Linked DNA regions of Homo sapiens: region 2 is linked to region 1. The links are contacts of gene promoters, found by promoter capture Hi-C in human tissues and cell types (Jung and others, 2019). All regions are on one chromosome and are shown on one strand. Each heading gives the region's core, a stretch centred on a gene start or on the middle of the fragment in contact. The rest is flanking DNA. Distances are from core to core; before and after follow the strand shown. Region 1 holds the start of PTS (6-pyruvoyltetrahydropterin synthase). Region 2 overlaps NCAM1 (neural cell adhesion molecule 1).

Region 1 (3,096 bases), core at 243-2,742:
TACAGAATGGGAGAAAATTTTTGCAATCTACCCATCTGACAAAGGGCTAATATCCAGAATCTACAAAGAACTTAAACAAATTTATAAGAAAAAAAATCAAACAACCCCATCAAAAAGTGGGCAAAGCATATGAACAGACACTTCTCAAAAGAAGACATTTCTGCAGCCAACAGACACATGAAAAAATGCTCATCATCACTGGCCATCAGAGAAATGCCAATCAAAACCACAATGAGATACCATTTCACACCAGTTAGAATGGCGATCATTAAAAAGTTGGGAAACAACAGATGTTGGAGAGGATGTGGAGAAATAGGAATGCTTTTACACTGTTGGTGGGAGTGTAAATGAGTTCAACCATTGTGGAAGACAGTGTGACGATTCCTCAAGGATCTAGAACTAGAAATATCATTTGACCCAGCCATCCCATTACTGGGTATATACCCAAAGGATTATAAATCATGCTACTTTAAAGACACATGCACCTGTATGTTTATTGTGGCACTATTCACAATTGCAAAGACTTGGAACCAACCCAAATGTCCATTAATGATAGACTGGATTAAGAAAATGTGGCACATGTACACCATGGAATATTATGCAGCCATAAAAACGATGAATTCATGTCCTTTGCAGGGACATGGATGAAGCTGGAAACCATCATTCTCAGCAAACTATCACAAGGACAGAAAACCAAACACTGCATGTTCTCACCCATAGGTGGGAATCAAACAATGAGAACACATGGACACAGGGTGGGGAACATCACACACCGGTGCCTGTCAGGGAGTAGGGGGCTGGGGGAGGGATAGCATTAGGAGAAATACCTAATGTAAATGACGAGTTGATGGGTGCAGCAAACCAACATAACACATGAATACCTATGTAACAAACCTGCACGTTGTGCACATGTACCCTAGAACTTAAAGTATAATAATAATTAAAAAGAAAAAAGAAAAAGAGAAACGAGGGTCTTGCTCTATTGCCCAGGTTGGACTCCTGGGCTGAAGTGATCCCTCTCCTTCTCAATAGCTGGGGCTACAGGAGTGCGTCACCACGCCCGCCTGGCTCAATTCCTGCTCCTTTTGGTCTATAAAGCGGACTGTGGCCCTGGGGTTCATCCGATTGAGTCACCAGTCACTGGAGCTTTACAGGAGAGAGTGGGAGAGGAGGCTCAGAGAGGTCACTCAGGACCCAAAGTGTGCCCAGACGGGCCCTAACTACGTGGCGTGACCTCAGGCGGGGCAAACAGATCAAGGACACAGGGTCCCCACCCACCCTGACCACTCCAGGGTATGCTTAGGTATCCCAAATCTTGCTCTCCGAAGAGATTCAGATAGCGAGAGACACCCTTAACTGTCTCCCGAGGCCGGGATTGGCCAGAGCGGAAGCGGAGACGCACTTCCTAGGGGCGCGTCTGGCACGCACTGCGCAGCCGCGGTGGGAGGAGGCACCGGCCGCGCGGCGGGAGGAGGTGCCGGCCGAGCACCGCAGACAGCGCCGGGAAGATGAGCACGGAAGGTGGTGGCCGTCGCTGCCAGGCACAAGTGTCCCGCCGCATCTCCTTCAGCGCGAGCCACCGATTGTACAGGTAGGGTGTGCACACAGGTACAGCGGCGGGCGGTGGGCGCCGGGCCCCGGAACGTCACCGGGGCGGGGCCGGCGGGCGTGCTGACGTCGGGCCCGGGAGGGGCGCGGGGGCTGCTGGGGCGACGCGCGCTGGTCGGCTTCGTGGGGCTTCGGACGGCCTCCAGCATCCTGATGGGGGCTGGAGTGTCCCCAGCCCTGGAGGGGTGGGGGAGCTTGATGGTTAACGGAGCCGACTGCGGAGGGCGATGGCCCACGTCTGGGTGCGGGGCCCACACCCGGTTCTGCGACTCGAAGAAACGTCTCTGCCCCTAGGAGTCCCTTGGTGTAGACCACAGGGTTGCTGTGAAACTCAGCAGTGTTAAACTCGCCTATGTTACACAGTACCTGGCGCGGCGTAGACACTCAGTAAATGTTAGCTAATCTTGTATGCCAGGAGCATTGGCCACCATATCTAATGTAATTACAAGGCAAATTTTAGCCCCTTTTTTACCAAAGACTGGATGAACCCAGTCCCTGGTGGTCTAGTGGCTAGGAGAAAAAAAAAAAAAAATGAGCCCAGACGTTCAGTTTCCGAAGCAGCATAGTTGGGATTTGAATCCCGATCATACATACTGCTTGCATGCACTGACGAGTTGATTTTGAGGAATTTTACCACGCACTAACCAGCTCCACCCTCTGGCCCTCCGTATCGTCGTCTGTGAAATGAGGATGACCATCGCTATCTAACAGGATTCATCCCTCCATTCGCTAAACCAGGTTTTGTTTCGTGCTTGTCAGGGCTTGTGCTAGGTAACGGATGCATCAGGGATCTTGTATGGGGTTTCCAATCTGGCCTATTTTGTGGAGGGTACACTGAGAAAATTTTGTGCAAAAGACTTTAGCACTCTAAATACAAGAAGTGGCTGAGCAGGAGAAAGTGGGGGTGTGTTATTCCATTTTGCATTGCCACAAAGGAATACTGAGACTGGTATTTTATAAAGAAAAGAGGTTTATTTGGTTCTGCAGGCTGTACAAGAAGCATGGCACCAGCATCTGCTTCTGTTGAGGCCTCAGGGACCTTCCACTCATGGTGGAAGGCGAAGGGCGAGCAAGCAGGCAACTCACAGGGCAAGTGAGGGAGCAAGAGAGAGGAGAGGAGGTGCCAGGCTTTTTTTAACAACCAGCTCGCCCATTGACTAATAGAGCGAGAACTCACTCATTGCTTCAGGGAGGGCACCAAGCCATTCATAAGGGATCCACTTCCATGAGCCAAACATCTCCCACTAGGCCCCATCTCCAACACTGGGGATCACATTTCAACATGACAATTGGAGGGGACAAACATCCAAACTACATTGGGGGGAATAATAAAGAGGATCTCAAAAAAAAGGGGTTGTATAATAAGCTTAAACACCTGAGGGTGGTAAGGTCTCATAGACGATGCGAAATTGAATGGATGGGTATAAGTATAAACATTAAGCAATTTGTTTTCTGTCTGAGACGACAGCCAAAGATTGTAATTTTAAA
Region 2 (2,872 bases), core at 345-2,844, 750 kb after region 1:
GCTAGTTTGGGTGACGGCCTCATCATGAAGCTTCCTGGGCGCATTGAACTATGCATCACCACGGAAAAGAGCCAGAGGGAGGGGAGAGGTGATGAGCAACCTTTGCAAAGGACAACAGGACAATTTTATGCCAGAGGAAATGAATAAAGTTAAGGGTTTTCCCCAGTGACTTCATTTATCATATGAGTTGATTATTTTTAGATTCAGTTTTGTCTTCTTACCTCATTGCCTGTGGTGTTCATACATTTATTTCTAGACCTTTAAAAAATGTTTCTATAGCAAAATCTTTTGAAGCTTGTTCTGCATGTCACAAATTGGATGTGCTGTTTTTATCAGATCAGCACAGGAGTGATTGATTACTTTTCTAATGTTCGTTTAGTCATTTTCAATTTGAGTGTCCATTCTGTTCACATGAGAGGCTGCCAGTCACCAGTTAAGCTGCAATTGCTATATGAGAATTGGACTTACAGTACTCCATAAAGGTGTACTTTAAGCAGCCTTAAAGGCCTGTTATCAAGGGCATAAGAAGATGGAAATCCAATGAAAGCTCTTTGGTTTGGGTACATAATTATAAATTATCTTTCTTTCTTTCTGAATTTAGTATCTCCTTTTGGTGTTGGAGGCAGTGCATACTGCACAGGGTGCCCCATGGACCTTTGGTATCAAACCCACATTTCGAACTGTGACTCTCCTGCTTTTCATGACCTTGAGCCAGTTATTTAATCTCCAACGGTCAGTTTATTTATCTGTGAATCAGGGATAATACCTAACTAATAGGGTTATTGTGAGGATGAAATGAGGTAGTTTATACAACTGTCTGGCACATAGTGAGCTCAGCAATTTTTTCCCATATCCTTTCTTTCTGCTAAAGTTCACAGTGAAGGGATATACAATTCGCGTTGGATTTAAGTATTGATTCTAATGAGAATCACATTTTCCATTTATTTTTCATGTTCTGAGAGTTCAGGATCACTGTGAATTGCAACTGAGTTGGAAATGCCATGCTTCATTGTGGAGCTGTTTTACCTCCTATGAAAGCAAAGCCTAGTAGATCTTGATTTTGACAAAAGTAATAGTTAAAAAATTAAAAGTGGTTTATCTAGATTCTCCTTTCCATTTGCATAGGGTTAATATCAAATCTGTCAATTCACTATAATGGTTGAGCCATAAAATTTAGTGTATTTAAATAATGGTTGCTGCTAAAGATCATATTGGTGACACTTCATTAATCTGGAAGTCACTTAATCTGGAAGTCACTTACCTGGCAACCCTGATTCTTTGAAACATGAAGAATGAAGAAGTAACGGAAAGAGGCCTCTGAAGAGCTAGCATAGCATCTTTTTCTTTCTTGATGCAATATCTTTCATATCGCTGAGGAGTTCATAACATTTCTCTTGCTTCTTGTCTCTTTTTGTCTGAATTCCTCTTTATTATGTTTGCTGTTGTATCTCCTTTTGTGTTTCATGTTGTTTCATTTAACTCCTCAAATTCTAATGATCCCTGGCTGCCTATTAGTAAAGAGTGAGACCCTGAAGAGCTGTGGGGCTCAGTGTGGGATGTCACACACTGAAAGACTGTGCAGAAACTTGGTTTATTGGGTGGGGGACATCCATGTATATTCATGAGTACTTACATTTTCTTTTGGACTGATTGACTTAAGAGAATCCAAAATTTTGCAGCAGGCACGGTATAAGTCCAACTACTATTTTTCTCTAAGCTGAATAAGAAATGGATTGGGGGTAATTTTTTCTTCTGTAGTCTAGACTTCATTTAATTCTCCTATTTTCAGTAGGGTGCTTCTGCCCTCAACAAAGTCTGGTATATGCAAGGACAAAGTGCATCTGGTTCAATCTCTCTATTTATAAAAATTGAGCCTTCTGCTGAGGTGAGGGGAGTATGGGAGAAGAGACATATGGCTGCCACCCTCCTGTAGCTTACAGTTTGTGTGTGTGTGTGTGTGTGTATGTATGTGTGTGTGTGTTTGAATTAGTGGTATCAGAGGCTCTATTGACTTTAATTTTGGAGCAGACTCAGAACCCACTGATGACCTATCTCCTTCAGGGTTTCTAATTGCTAAAGTCCAAAGCGGGCTTTTAAAATCTTTTTTGAAGTCTTTTATCTTGCACGTTTTAGGGTAGGATCGTTGAGACTGAAAGAAGCTTGCAGTTCTTAAAGGAAAAGGGACATGCTCTAGGGGTGCATCAAAGGCAAAAACCCGAACAGAGGAATGTTCAGACAACTTCAAGGGATTGACAATTTAAAGAGTTTTGAGGAAACTTTTCTGAACTGAAGCATTCTCAAGAGATTCCAAGGTGGCCTGAGATTCCACATTTCTTTGATAGAAAGACGTGGACTTGGCAGTGATTTTGCAAATCAGAACAAGAACAATTTTATGAACACATTGGCAAGTGGCCATGTCTCAGACTTGTTGGGTAGTTAAATGTCCACTAGAAACATTGACTTAATCCAGTATTTATGAAATAACTCCCGTATTCTATGTAGTTGGTCTAGGAATTGGAGGTGAAAGATGAATACCATTCAGCTTTGTGAAAAATTCTAGACCACGTTCAAAAAGTTTTTTGTTTATACTTGTAATATTTATGCCTGTGGAATGACACAAAAGACAATCTTGAAATGTCAGAAAATGATAAATAAGAGTTATTTGTTATTTTCTCAGCATTTTTTTCCTTTTGTGTGTGTAAGTGAAAGTTACTCATCACGTTTAAAATTTAAAATTTTCATCAAAGAAAACCATCTGTCATAATGAAGTAAAAAAGGGACATTATGTGATTTTCTTTGAAGATAAGGGATTGAAAGTGAGTCAGTTAACTGCCCTAGGTTACCATTTGAGGTCATTTTGAACTAAATTGGC

The links. Contacts are between HindIII fragments. The study calls those that stand out against the background at their distance.
Region 2: a fragment that was not itself captured here is called in contact with the fragment with the promoter of PTS in region 1 in 1 of the 25 tissues and cell types used here (dorsolateral prefrontal cortex).

What each region holds. Positions count from the first base shown.
Region 1 is chr11:112,224,936-112,228,031 of GRCh38, forward strand. PTS (6-pyruvoyltetrahydropterin synthase) reads left to right here and starts at 1,493. Exons shown (of 6, transcript NM_000317.3): 1 at 1,493-1,591. The coding sequence starts at 1,509. RefSeq lists silencers at 1,364-1,773, 2,131-2,425. The HindIII fragment of the contact is 11,416 bases long and covers 1-3,096 here.
Region 2 is chr11:112,972,870-112,975,741 of GRCh38, forward strand. The region is part of intron 1 of NCAM1 (neural cell adhesion molecule 1); the gene reads left to right. Among named protein-coding and RNA genes, the nearest start is that of NCAM1-AS2, 11 kb to the left of the region's middle. The HindIII fragment of the contact is 3,946 bases long and covers 1-2,872 here.